2 separate regions of the Homo sapiens genome follow, and region 2 is linked to region 1. Evidence: promoter capture Hi-C in 16 types of primary human blood cells and fetal thymus (Javierre and others, 2016). All regions are on one chromosome and are shown on one strand. Each heading gives the region's core, a stretch centred on a gene start or on the middle of the fragment in contact. The rest is flanking DNA. Distances are from core to core; before and after follow the strand shown.

Region 1 (7,552 bases), core at 2,963-5,462:
GTGAAATTCCTTTTCCTGGCTCATCCTGGTTCAAAAGCTCCCCCACTGAGCACCTTGTGACCCCCACCCCTGCCCGCCAGAGAACCCCCTTTGACTGTAATTTTCCTTTACCTACCCAAATCCTATAAAACGGCCCCACCCCATCTCCCTTCGCTGACTCTCTTTTCCGACTCAGCCCGCCTGCACCCAGGTGATTAAAAAGCTTTATTGCTCACACAAAAATAAATAAATAAATAAATAAATAAATAAATAAATAAATAAACAAAATAAAATATCCTGTCTTTCTAATAATTACGCCCTGTCCTATCTGGTTCCCCTATGTTCTTGTGTCCTCCAGTATCACAAATATCCAGGTAGCCAGCTAAGTGCCTGCACAAATGACAGACTGCACTAAAAGAACTCCATTGACACCCTCCAGCAAGCAAAGGTCGATTGTATTGACCAGCACAAGGCTATAGGAAAGATCATTCAAGTAGAAGACACTGTCTCCATCCATGGTAGGAACTGTAACACTGCTATAAGAGCACTTCAGAGGCAGAGGTTATCATCTCACTGGTTTTCAAATATGTTTTCCTTCATCCACGTAAATACATATTATCTTTTTCCACTCTCTGCTCTATCCACCTGTAGGAGATATTACACTCCTACATCCTATGCCCCAGTAGTCTGTGCTAATAACCCCAGCAGTTAACTTGAACATGTCATGTGGAAAGCCCAGACTTATGAATAAGAAGGGTCTGAAGGGACATTTGTGGCAACAGTCCTTCCACCTTTAGAATACCTTCAAGCATTCTCTTCTAAGCAATATTCCAGCAACCAAAAATTCCTCATTTCGCTGATTAATAAACAGAAACTGGAACTGAATGGTGGCACCTAGAATAAATCCAGGGGAACTACCAGTACAATAGTTTAATTCATTGTGGGCCCTCTCTACTTGCTACCATACTTAGAATGTATATTCCAAGGCAAGTTCTCATTTTGAACTTTGGCCCAGCTGTCTAATCACCTATGAGACATAACTGGCTTACTATGTTGTAATCACTGTATAAATTGCTAACATCTTCTCTGTGATGTTCTCTTATGGAGCCTTAGAGAGATTCCTAAATCCAGTCTGAGATTCCTGAAGCATTGGTCAGTTCCTCCTTTCACCATCACCTTCAACGAATGCAACAGAACAGATCTGAATAAGGTACTTACGAACTTTTAAACTTTAATAACTTAAGTTAAAAGAGCAAAAGAAATAATCAGTTAAAATTACCTGAAAGTTGTGTATTAACATTTATAATAACTATTACACAATTTCTATATTGTATTAAAGATCCTGATTGACCAAAAGAAATCATGAGGTAAATTATGCACATGGATAACAAAATTAAGACTATAAGAAATATAAAGAAAACATTGCCCTTTTGAACTATTTACAAATTTTTAAATCATACCTGTAACCTAATGTTACTAAAGTTTAAAATTTTTAACATACCAAGTGCCTCAAGAGTTTTATAATTTATTATATAAACAACTTGATACATTTACTTATTCACTTATTAAACATTTAACAGAGTAAATGTCATTTTTCAGTAGTCTGAAAAAGAACGAGGATTCTGATAAGTTTGGGGGGGTTTTTTGCTTTCCATTAAAACAATAGTGGTTGCAAAGCTATCCCTTATTTTAAGAAAAGCAATAAAAATGTAAAGATCTGCAAAATTAGAAAGCAGAAAACTAATTTATTCTAAATATTCCGAATCCTCAATCTTTAGTAAGTAAATGTGTGAGATTAGAGCCATCTACCGGTTGAAGTGTGATGTTACACAACCCAACTGTTGGACTATTAACAAAGCAGGGAGACTTAGTTGTAGGAATTTAAATGGGGATACACATGGGCAAAAATCATCTGGTCTAGGACACTGGTTCAAGGGTTTAATAAAATACTCTCTTTTTATCAGGAAACCCAACATGTGTAACAAAGTAGGATCCCCCTGTAAAACCACCAGTAAGGGGCCTCCAACCCTGACCCTCAAAGAAAGGAGTCACTAATTAGCCTGAGAAGCAGAGGCCAGGCCAATGAAAAACCAGCCACGAGAGGTAGTTTGGGCAAATAACTGTGGTTTGGAAGGAGGCACAAAGAAGGAACAGCATTAGCAACACTGTCTCTTACCCATCTTTCCCCTGAAGACATCTTAGACACACAATGCACAAAGGACAGTGATCAATGGTCACAGAGAAATGAATAGGAGCAGGCACCTGAAAGGCTACAAACCTCTTTTCACAGGGACACAGCTTATGTGCTCATTTGATTCCACACTTAAGAAAATACTAGTATAACTTTCCTGAAAATAAAAAATAAAAAGATAACACATTTGCTTTTTTACCACAAGCCGGTAAGAACTGAGTTTCTAGGTCCGGTGGGCTTTCACCAGCCAAGTCCTGGACTGGTCTAGTCTTGGAAACAAAAGCCCAGTTTCAGGTCCCAGCCTCCTCCCTTCAAAAGGGCATGGATGTCCATAGAATCGAGGCAAGAAATAGAGCTCTCCAAGACTCCTCTCTGAGGCAGAGACCCCCAGCCTAGACAGCAGCTTGTCAGCTAGGCTTGGGGTGACAGGCTGCAGCAAAGTCCCAAAGACTCGCAAACATTCCAAGGCCACATGAAGCACAGTACCCAGCCAGGGAGCATCCACTGGGCTCTCCCAGTTCAGCTTCCATGGTGCATGCCTTTGGACAAAACCATTAGTTTGCCGGACACAGCTGGACACGGCCTCCAGAGCCTTATATATCCGAAAGTTATCATAGTGGTCTGCTACCTGCTTTGGCAAAGTGGCCACTGCGCTCACCAGAGCATAATCCTCTGCCTGAGCACGAACTGACGGCCCCACCAACCCTGGCTCACTAGGGAAGCAGGTAGTGCAGAAGGCTGGGTAGGTCTCAGAAGGATTTATTCTTTTGGCAGTGCATCGGTTCAAGAGACCTCCCAAGGCATCTGCCAGCTCGGAGTTCAGCAACTTAACCACCTTTTCATCATAGTAGTCACAGTCCCAGTTGGGGACGCCCTGCCGAAGGAGAAAGTAGCGGAAGCCATCCACGGTATAGCGGTTAAGGCAAGTCCTAGGATCCACCACGTTGCCCAAGCTCTTGGACATCTTTTGGCCACAGACTGTCCAGTGGGAATGGACACAGATGCGCTGTGGCGGGCTCATGCCGGCCCCTAACAGGAAGGCAGGCCAATAGATGGCATGGAATTTGAGAATGTCCTTACCTATGATATGAGAGGTGGCCGGCCACCAAGATTTGAACTCAGCATTTGGGTAGCCAATTACAGTGAGGTAGTTGACCAGGGCATCCAGCCATACATAGATGGTCTGCGAATCATCCCCGGGCACCGGAATGCCCCAGTGCAAGTGGCTACTTCTGCGAGACACGGACAGGTCGGGCAGCTCCTCGTCCAGCCACTGAAGAACTACGTGATGAAATGGTTCGGGGGTGATCGCCTGAGGGTTGCCCCGCAGCCACCGCTGGAGTGGCTTCCGGAACTGGGAAAGCCTGAAAATGTAGTTTTCTTCCTTGGTCCAGGAGACTGGATGCCCGCTCTCGAGAGATACAGGAAACGAATCCCCCGATGGGCCCGGCTGCTGGGTGACCTTGGCCTCAGGCAGGAAGCACTCGTCGGAAGCGCAATACCAACCTTCATAGACGCCCTTGTAGAGCAGACCGCGGGACTTAAGCACCCCCCAGAAGTGCTGCACAGCCACCCGGTGCCGGGCCTCCGTGGTGCGGATGAAATCTGTGCAGGAGATACCGGCCTCCTGGAAAAGCTGCTGGAACTGCTCAGAGACTCGGTCGCACAGCTCGGTCGGGGCCAGGCCCGCGGTAGCTGCTGCCTGCTGAATCTTCAGCCCGTGCTCGTCGGTACCAGTGGAGAATCGCGTGGCGGCCGTGCTGGGACCTCGGAGGCGACGGTGGCGGCATAGGGCGTCCGCCAGTAGTGCCGAGTACAGGTGCCCGATGTGCGGCGCCGCGTTCACGTAGAAAATGGGTGTAGTGAAGTAGGCGCGCACATCACAAGCATCATCGCCGGCACTGAGGGAGCCCGAACTGTAGTAGCGTGGGCCGAAGTCCTCCAGGAGAGACAGCCTACTAGCCCCCGTGCGTCCTAGCAGGCGGAGGACGGACGTTCGCAGCATGGTGCAGACCGGCCGCAAGCGGAGGAGGCGGCGTTCTGACAGCACGTGTGAGAGGCGCATGCGCAGCCGGGTCGCGCCGCAGCTTCCGGCCGGAAAGCCAATGAAACGCGGCCCCGAGCGCCGGCCCTCACCGCCCTCCCCGCCCGGCCCCGCCCCGCCCGCGCCTGCGCCGTCCGCACGCCGAAAGCCGCGGCGCCAGAGGCCGCCAATGGACGGCGGCTTGCCAGAAAAACAGCTCAGAGTTGCCGGGTTTAGGAGAGGCTATGAAAGAAGACGAACCTCTTTGCCTTCGTATAACATACTGTGTTTCCTGCTTTGGATTGTAATTTTATATTTATGAATCTGTTTCCCCCTCTAGGCTGAGCTGCTTGTAGGCAAGAGTTTTATATTCAGCCGTTTGTCTAAACCCCGTCCGTGGCTGGCATACTGCAAGACAGAGTATTGCTCTGCACATGCCCTGTCGATATCTAAAATGTCACCTAAATTTTATCTCAGAGCCTAAATCAATCTGTAAGGGAGGGAGAGAGAAAAAAGATGAAAAATCATTACCTACAGCATTTTGAGAGAAGGATAAGAACTGAGAATGGAAGAGAAGTCTTTAAACAGTTTTTGTTGAATCAACAAAAGTAGATTTGTGATCTGCCAAGTTCTTGCCAAAGTTTATTGAGATCCAGGAAAGTAGAGTGCAATATGCTGTCACTGTGCATATAAAGAATAATTTTCAAATTTATTTCTCAAAAAGTTAATTTTTTTAATGGTCTTGAAGTTCTTTTAAAATAGTGTTTCTCAAGTTTGCTTTTAGTAATGGAACCTTAGAATTTTTTTTAGGGGAGGAAACCTCAGGAGCCCAGAATTGAATTAATGTTAATCCCTAGTTCATAACACACTCTCATCTTTGATCTTTTTTTTTTAATTTAATTTAAGTAGCATATACATTTAATAATAAAATGGAGCAGCTATGAACCTACAACCCAATCTAAGAACTACAAGTGGTTTCAGAGTGTGGTCCCCAGAGCAGCAGAACTGGCAGCACCTGGAACTTCGTTCGATATGTATATTCTTAGGCCCCATCCCCCACATACTGAACCAGAAAACTCTGAGGGTAGGGCCCAGTAATTTAGATTTTAAGGTGATTCTGATGCACATTAAAGTTTGAGAAACACTGAACTAGAAAATTACCAGTGATTTAGATCTGTGTGCTCCTTTTCTTCTCGTACTGTCCTCCCTGAGGTAGTCATTGTCCTGAATTTTGTTCTTGCACATTTGTGTGATCACATACAAAGTATGTCTAAGTAACATTGTTTAATTTTGCTTGCATTTAAATATTCTAAAAAGGATATAATACTACATGTAGTCTTCAACTTGCCTTTTTATTCAACATTTTGTTGCTATATTAATCCATGTTGTTGCATGTAACTGCATTCATATGTTCTTAATACATGTTGCATGTAATTCATTCATTTTGACTGCTGTATAATAACCTTTGACTGAACACATATGGTAACTTGGATCTGATTTCTCTAGTGATATGATGAAAGGTGGACCAATCGAATTCTGTATAAGAGATATAAAAAATAACTTTGGATACTCAGTTGATGTGCTCTTATTTAATCCAGCAGTTTAAGAATGACCTACAACCATCTGGTCTTCAACAAAGTTGATAAAAACAAGCAATGGGCAAAAGACTCCCTATTCAATAAATGGTGCTTGGATAACTAGCTAGCCATATACAGATGAAACAGGACCCCCTTCCTATACCATATACAAAACTCAACTCAAAATGGATTAAAGACTTAAATGTAAAACCTAAAACTAAAAACCTTAGAAGGTAACCTGGGAAATACCATTCTGGACATAGGACCTGACAAAGATTTCATCATGAGGATGCCAAAAGCAATTGCAACAAAAACAAAAATTGACAAATGGGACCTAATTAAAGAGTTTCCGCACCACAAAATAAACTATCAACAGAGTAAGCAGACAATCTACAGAATGGGAGAAAATATTTTCAAACTATGAATCCAAGAAAGGTCTAATATCCAGAATCTATAAGGAATTTTAAAAATCAATAAGCAAAAAACCTCATTAAAAAGGCAAAGGACATAAACAGACACTTCTCAAAAGAAGATAGACATGCGGCCAACAAGCATATAAAAAATGCTTAACATCACTCGTCATTACAGAAATGCAAATCAAAACCACATTTAGATACCATCTCACACCAGTCAGAATGAATATTATTAAAAAGTCAAAAAACAACAGATGCTGGCAAGGTTGCAGAGAAAAGCAACACATACACTGCTGGTGGGAATGTAAATTACTTCAGCCATTATAGAAAGCAGTTTGGTGATTTCTCAAAGAACACAAAGCATAATTATGATTTGACTTAGCAATCTCATTATTGAGTATATATCCAAAGGAATATAAATCATTCTACTGTAAAAAAAAAACGCACTCCCATGTTTATTGCAGCACTGTTCACAATAGCAAAGACATGGAATCTTCCCTAAATGCCCATCAACAGTAGACTGAATAAAGAAAATGTGGTACATATACACCATGGAATACTATGCAACCATAAAAAAGAACAAGATCATGTTCTTTACAGCAACATGGGTGGAGCTGGATGCCATTATCCTAAGTTAACCAACATAGGAACAGAAAGCCAACTATCATATGTTCTCACAAGTGGGAGCAAAACATTGAGTACATATGGACACAAAAAAGGAAACAGCAGACTCTGGGGCCTACTTGAGGGTGGAGGAAGGGAGGAGAGTGAGGACTGAAAAACCATCTATCGGGTACTATGCTTTTTACCTAGGTGGAGAAATAATCTGTACACCAAACTGCCGTGACACACAATTTACCTATATAACAAACAGGCACATGTACCCTGAACCTAATACAAGTTTTTTTTAAAATGGCAAGTGAACATAGGTAAAACTTAAAACTGGAAGGTATATACGGCACCCTCCAGAACTGGCAGATAAATGGAAGCTAAGTGTCTGAGAAACCAGGTTATCCAGAAATTCTTACTATTTTTTTTTCCTTTTCCATTGAAGTACTGCCTCAGCATACAAGTGTGCTATTTTTTCTCCCATTTAAAAAAAAAATTCTCAACCTCCATTACTGCACCATTTCTTTCCTTCCCTTTAGAGCAGAACTCCTTAAAGAAATGGCCATTGATACACACTTCAGTGATTCAAGTTTTCACTCTTAGAAACAATACTACTATTAACACTGTCGTATATGTCTCCTGGTGCCTATATGCTGAAGTTTCTCTTGGATATATACATGGGAATGAAATTGCTGGATCATAGAGAGTATGAGTTTTCCATTTTTCAAAATAATGCCAAGTTATTTTCCAATGGTTAAAC
Region 2 (7,552 bases), core at 1,292-3,791, 230 kb after region 1:
GAAAGGAGGACAGGAGATCAATGACTGGTTAAAAGAAAACTGAATTTTGCTTATATTTGTTAAAGTCTGTTTCTTCATAGAAATAGATATTTTAGATATCTTCATAGATATTTTTAAGACATGAAATGCTGTAACACTTTACTATGTCTATGCAAATACACATTTAAACAATATAGGAAGATTTCAATAACCAAACTAACTGTACAAAAAATAAACAAATTAACTTTATTACATTGCTACTTCAACTTCAGTCCTTACATTGATTTGTTTTTTAAAAAATACCAGTTTGAAACACATTACTGAAAGTGAGTGTACACAATAAATAGAAAATAGGGATGCATAGTGCTGGAGACATTCAACCAACTTATCTTCATCTGTTGCCTACTGTTGTAGACAAAATTTGACACACAATTAGCATTACTGAAAGAGCAGCCAAACTACCTCGGAGAAAGTGGCAAACTACTGGAAAAGTAGCTTAAAGCTCTGGACCACTCACCAAAAAAAAAAAAAAAAAGAAGAAAATACACTGTTTATCTGGGAGCTAGCCTCATTATGGCAATGAATTTATCTACTAGTCATAAGAACAATTTTTAAAATATCAAAAGTCCCAGGGAACCTTCACTAACAGTTTTTGTTTTTGTTTTTGGAGACAGAGTCTCCCTCTGTTGCCCAGGCTGGAGTGCAGCAGGGCGATCTTGGCTAACTGCAACCTCCGCCTCCCGGGTTCAAGCGATTCTTGTGCCTCAGCCTCCCAAGTAACTGGGATTACAGGTGTGTGCCACCACGCCCAGCTAATTTTTGTATTTTTAGTAGAGATGGGGTTTCGCCATGTTGACCAGGCTGGTCTAGAACTCCTGACCTCAACTGATCTGCCCACCTCAGCTTCCCCAAGTGCTGGGATTACAGGTGTGAGCCACTGTGCCCAGCCCAAAGTTTTTACTTTAAATATATGATTACTCAAATATCCTAAGCCATACGGCAGGCCCTATAACAATAAGTTACAAATAGTCTGAATTTAATAACTTAAGTGTGATATGGTTAATATAATACATACTGTGTGAATATCTTAACTAACCTCTTTCAGGTAAGGTGATAATTAAAAGGTTTAAATTTACAGTTTCAACTTCTGCTCAGAAGAATCATGCCAGTATTCTAGCAATGGTGATGACATCCCATTATTGTAATGCAGAACATGATAATGTCCATATTATTTTGAATTATACTTGAAGAAATAATTCTATGTACAAGTGAGTCTATATTCTATGTGCAAATTTTCAATGGTGCAGGTTTATAACCAAAGCTGCGTTTAACAAATGCTTTCTGGCTTCTGAAAACATGTCATGAAAATACTTCCTAAAAGTGAACAAACTAAAGTCAGAAGCAGGTGGCACCAGTTCTTTTTTGCCTTTATGTGTGATGGACTTCATGAAGCATTAACTCCCGAGGTATATTTGTTTCTGGACCATACAGCTTACATGCTCTTCTTTCAAAGGCAGCTACCATCTGCTTCACAACTTCATCAAAAAAGAGTGTGGCAAGCTGGGAATGTAGAAGTGATCGAAATTCAAAAGAAATCTGTAGGAAAATATTGAAAATTATTTTAGAAAAAATTATTTTTTGCTTTTTTTTTTTTTTTGGTTTTCCTGGAGAGGGACTCTCGCTTTGTTGCCCAGGTTGGAGTGCAGTGGCACAATTGCGGCTCACTGCAGCCTCAACCTCCTGGACTCAAGCAATCCTCCCACCTCTGTCTCCCAAGTAGCTGGTACTACAGGCATATGCCACCACATGTGGCTAATTTGTGTGTGTGTGTGTGTATATATATACGTATATATATACGTATATACATATATATACGTGTATATATACATATATATATATGTATATATGTGTATATATATATATATATATATATATATTTTTTTTTTTTTTGTGGGGGGGGGCGTAGAGAAGGGGTTTTGCCATGTTGCCCAGGCTGATCTCAAACTCCTGGGCTAATGCAATTCTGCCCACTTCAGCCTCCCAAAGTGTTGGGATTATGGGCATGAGCCACTGTGCCCAGCCAGAAAGATTTTTTTTAAACTAAATCTCCACTTAGGACAGTGGTGTTCACACTATGAACTGGGTATCTAAGGTAGAATTGTGTGGATGTATGTAGGTGGGATTTTTAGCACCCCCACAAAAGAGGGAATCTTCTTTTACTGCAACAAGCACAATTGCTGGCACAATAAGCTTACATAAAGAAGGCCAATGAAATCTCATTTCAAGGGAAAAAGTCTGTTTCTTAATAAGAGAAGACTGGAAAAAACCTTTGCTGAATACATTAATCACTATGCCTTCTTATTAATGTGTCCCTTTTAGATCCATCCTATCCCACAAAAGGAAATAAGGAAGGAAAGTGATCCTTCTCATAGGTATCACTGAGAAGCACCAGCAGGAAGAGGAGGCTGGAAGTGTGCATGCACATGTGTGCCTAACCCACAGGGCAGATGGTGTAAGTGGTTTAATCTTTCTTTTTTTTTTTTTTTTTTTTTGAGATGGAGCCTTGCTCTGTCGCCCAGGCTGGAAATGGCCCAACCTCGGCTCAAATGCAACCTCTGACTTCTAGGTTCAAGCGATTCTCCTGCCTCAGCCTCCAGAGTAGCTGGGACCACAGGCACCTGCCACCACGTCCAGTTAATTTTTGTATTTTCAGTAGAGACGGGGTTTCACCATGTTGGCCAGGCTGGTCTCAAACTCCTGACCTCAGGTAATCCACCCACCTAGGCCTTGCGAAGTGTTGGGATTACAGGCATGAGCCACTGCGCCCGGCCACGTGGTTCAATCTTAAAGTAGCCAATGATGTGGACAAGCTTGTCCAATCCACCTTATTTTGTAGTTGTTGTTGTTTTGTTTTGTTTTGTTTTAGGCTTTTAACAGCCTGAAGCCATGGGTTTTAGTTTCTGTCTCTAGTGGTTAAGTGGAAAAGAGGGATGAGGAAGAGGCTTTACTGGCCCAACCAGAAACAGAAACTAAGAACCCATGACTGTATTCTCTCCCTTGGATACCCTTTCAGAACTTTATTTATACCCTCTCATTGTTCCATATAGAATTCAAGACAACTGGTTTGAGAACTGTGTTTTAAGGACCAAATATCCTCTAAATATTAAAATGTTTATCTTTCATTACGAAATAATTTCATTTTTGTAAAAAAAAAAAACTACAAAATAATACAAAGAATTCCCATGTACCCATTACCCATATTTCCCTATTTTAATGTCTTCAATAACCATACTGCAATTATCAAAATCAGGAAATTAACAGAGGGAGTTACTACTACTAGATAATAATGCTATTATCTAATTTATATAGACCTTATTCAAATTTTCCCAATTGTCCTTTTTTTTTTTTTTTGAGACAGTGTCTCACTCTGTCACCCAGGTTGGAGTGCAGTGGTACGATCTCAGATCACTGCAACGTCCACTTCCTGGGTTCAAGTGATTCTCCTGGTTCAGCCTTTCAAGTAGCTAGGACTACAGGCATGCACCACCACACCCGGCTAATTTTTGTATTTTTAGTAGAGATGGGGTTTCGCCATGTTGGCCAGGCTGGTCTCAAACTCCTGACCTCAAGTGATCTGCCCGCCTCGGCCTCCCAAATTGCTGGGATTACAGGCGTGAGCCACTGTGCTTGGCCCCAATTGTCCTATTAATGTCTATAATGCTTTAATGAAAATTACTCAAGAGCTGAGAACAGCACACGATAATTTAGTCAAAATTGCCACCATTTCTTAAAATTCAATGCCCAAGTTGCCTGTACAGAGAACAACTCCCATATTACCTGTTGGCAAAGAAAAAGCCACAAATTGCTTTAAGTTTTCTATAACTACGATTATATGAAAAAGAAAGTTACTAGGCTGGGTGCGGTGGCTCACGCCTGTAATCCCAGCACTTTGGGAGGCCAAGGTAGGCAGATCTCCTGAGCCCAGAAGTTCGAGACCAGCCTGGGAAACATGGCAAAACCCCATCCCTACATAGAATACAAAAATAAGCCTGTGTGGTGGTGCATTCCTGTAGTCCCAGCTACTCGGGAGGCTGAGGTGTGAGGATCACTTGAGCCAGGGAAGCAGAGGTTACACTGAGTCAATATCACAGCACTGCACTCCAATCTGGGTGACAAAGTAGCGCCCCATCTCAAAAAAATAAAAAAAGAAAGTTACCAGACTCTAGATGCAAAAAAATGAAAAAAATATATTACCTTATTTCTGCATGTTTTATTTTTAAATTTTTTGAGACAGGGTCTCACTCTGTTGCCCAGGATGGAGTACAGTGATGTGATCATAGTTCACTGCAAGCTCGAACCCTTGGACTCAAGTGATCTGCTCGTCAGCCTTCTCAGCAGCTAGGACTACTGGTGGGCACCACTACACAAGGATAATTTTATTTTTATTTTTATTTGTTTTGAGACAGTTTTGCTCTTGTTGCCCAGGCTGGAGTGCAATGGCACGATCTCGGCTCACTGCAACCTCCGCCTCCCGGGTTCAAGTGATTCTCCTGTCTCAGCCTCCTGAGTAGCTGGGATTACAGGCACATGCCACCACGCCCGGCTAATTTTTGTATTTTTACTAGAGACGGGGTTTCATGATATTGGTCAGGCTGGTCTCGAACTCCTGACCTCAGGTGATCTGCCCGCCTCAGCCTCCCAAAGTGCTAGGGTTATAGGTGTGAGCCACCCCATCCAGCCGATAATTTTATTTTCACTAGAGACAAAGTCTTGCTATGTTCCCCAGGCTGGTCTCAAACTCCTGGCCTCAAGTGATCCACCTGACTCAGCCTCCCAAAGTGCTGGGATTCCAGGCATGGGCTACTGCACCTAGCCTGTTTCTGCATCTTATATGCAATGTGTTCTTTCATTTGGTGTTAATTTAAAACTATTATTAAGTTTAAAACTGTTATTAAGCTGGTTGTAAAGTCATGGCATGTATCTTACAATCTACAGATTTGTAAAAAACAGAATGAAGGAATATTCAAGGTTGCAAGAAATAGAATAAAAAAGAAATGTTCATTAGCATTTATGCAGAAAAAGGTATTCAATATAATTATGGCCTCTGTGTTCTAAAAAATGATTACTTTTTACCAATTTTACCTCATAAGTGGAACAAATCAAGGGCTTTATGAGACTTACTGAAAAATCCAAGGTACAAGTTCTTGGGTAGCCAGGAAGACCTGGGCTAAAACGCCAAATAGTCTCCAAATGATTGAAAAGTCTCCCATCAGTACAAGATGCCTACAACAAAATGAAAAAATAAAACCACAGTTAAATACCTTTGCTACTGGACATAATCTAAGAATCTACTATGACTGAGGCTGATTTCTTTCATAAGTAATAATTTTTATAGGTCAGACCATAGGAGATAAAGATATCTAATTTTTAGCTTGGTACTAGGAAGTAATGTCTTGCCAATATTAGCCTTTTTTTTTTTTCCTGCAGGGATCCCTAAGATTGCCAGGTGTTTTCTCTTCCATTGCTAACACCTGCTTTGCTACTTAGCTTTCCTTCCTCTAGAAGCAAAAGAGGGAGCTTCTTGGAAGCTTATTTCTAGCTCTGCCACATATAAGTGATCGTGAACAAGTTAAATCCCCATACCCTATTTCCTTAATCTGTAAAATAATACCTACTTTATATCATGAGATCACTGAAATGTTAATAAGGTACCTGGTACACATTTATCTCCTACTCAAAGACTGTTCTCTTATTAATCACGTATAGTCTTTCCTTCACTCTTTGCTCCTTATTCCTAGAGGCCTCTATCTAGTTTTCCTAACTGTGTAGTCCTGGCCCTTAGCCCTGATCCATTTCTTTCTGATTTTTTCAATGCACATGTATACTTTATATTCAGTATGCACACAATCACAATACTTAACCATACTATGTGCAGGGCATCTTGGTAGTTCCTATTTTGTATCATAAAAAAAATACTTATTGTGGCTGGATGTGGTGGCTCACACTTGTAATCCCATCACTTTGGGAGGCCAAGGTTGGGGGATCACTTGAGCCCAGGAGTTCGAGGCTGCAGTAAGCTATGATTATGCCACTGCACTCCAGCCTGGGCAACAGAACGAGATTCCCTGTCTCTTCGAAAAAAATTTAAAAATTAGCCAGGTTTAGTGATGCATGCCAGTAGTCCCAAGTACCCAGGAGGCTGAGGTGAGGGGACTGCTTGAGCCCAGGAGACTGAGGCAGCAGTGAGCTATAATTACGCCACTGAACTCCAGCCTGGGTGACAGAGCCAGACACTGTCTGAAAAAATAAAATAAAAATAAAAATAAAAAATAAAAAAATTTATTGAGATCCATGAAAGAGATGCCATCTGCAATCTGAAAATGGTAACCAGAACCATAGTTACTAGTTCATTGTTAGGACTGATTATGCTCGTTATGACCCTGAGAGATGCTCAGCATTTTATTTTTATTTTTATTTTTATTTTTTCCCACCTCAGCCTCCCAAGTAGCTGGGACCACAGGTGTGTGACACTATGCCCAGCTAATTATTTCATTTTTTGTAGAGTTGTGTTCTCCCTAAGTTGCCCAGGCTGGTAATGAACTCCTGGGCTCAAGTGAACCTCCTGCCTTGGCCTCCCAAAGTGCTGGGATTACAGCAGGCGTGAACCACCTCATCCACACAAATAATCTAGAGCATTCCTAAAGTGCACAGGTAATTTCTAAGAGCATCAAGAGTCTATAATAAAATCTTGTTATTTCAGTTGCCCAACTTTAGGATAATACATTCTGCCCTTCTTTACAATCATTTAAGAAGCTTATAGGAAATTTAACATTAAAGGATAAACAGGTTTTGGGAGTATTCACTGTAACATAGCACCTTCCTCTGACTACTTTTTTTTTTTTTTTTTTTTGAGACGGAGTCTCACTCTGTCACCCAGGCTGGAGTGCAGTGGCGCGATCTCGACTCACTGCAAGCTCCGCCTCCTGGATCCACACCATTCTCCTGCCTCAGCCTCTCAAATAGCTGGGACTACAGATGCCCGCCACCATGCTCGGCTAATTTTTTTTCGTATTTTTACTAGATATGGGGTTTCACCATGTTAGCCAGGATGGTCTCGATCTCCTGACCTCCTGATCCCCCCGCCTCGGCCTTCCAAAGTGCTGGGATTACAGGTGTGAGCCACCACACCCGGCCTCCTCTGACTACTTTTATACAAAATCTGGCAGTATTTCACTCACTCCAATTATCTAGCCCAAGGACGCACGGATTTTTACTGTTATGTTTTGACACGAAGAGTTTGCCAAAGACCTCATTTCTAAGAGCAGAGATACTGAATAGTAGAAGCTGTCATAATGATGACCTACTACTGACTGTTCTGAGTGAACTGATTTAGACCATTATATAAACTAATCCATACAAAATGTTTCTATCATGAAGCAGGCAGTAAAAGTCATTGAACTGTTGCCTCTCTGAAAATGTTCAAGGGCTTCTGGCCATTAAAGATTAGTGTAGACTAGAATTACTGACATATTAAGTGACAGGCATGTTTTGGTCAGCTAATAATTCACAGAAC

What was found. The method cuts DNA at HindIII sites, captures the fragments that hold promoters and counts their contacts. A CHiCAGO score of 5 or more calls a contact.
Region 2: a fragment that was not itself captured here is called in contact with the fragment with the promoter of MARS2 in region 1 in 1 of 17 cell types (neutrophils); the score reaches 5.3 in neutrophils.

The regions. Positions count from the first base shown.
Region 1 is chr2:197,702,029-197,709,580 of GRCh38, reverse strand. MARS2 (methionyl-tRNA synthetase 2, mitochondrial) reads right to left here and starts at 4,212. Exons shown (of 1, transcript NM_138395.4): 1 at 1,186-4,212. The coding sequence starts at 4,175. The coding sequence ends at 2,394. RefSeq lists enhancers at 3,809-3,928, 3,969-4,018 and a silencer at 4,159-4,398. The HindIII fragment of the contact is 9,491 bases long and covers 205-7,552 here.
Region 2 is chr2:197,467,780-197,475,331 of GRCh38, reverse strand. COQ10B (coenzyme Q10B) reads right to left here. Exons shown (of 5, transcript NM_025147.5): 4 at 5,161-5,262; 5 at 22-1,575. The coding sequence ends at 1,408. LOC124907951 (a long non-coding RNA gene) reads left to right here and starts at 2,291. Exons shown (of 2, transcript XR_007087903.1): 1 at 2,291-2,491. The HindIII fragment of the contact is 620 bases long and covers 2,232-2,851 here.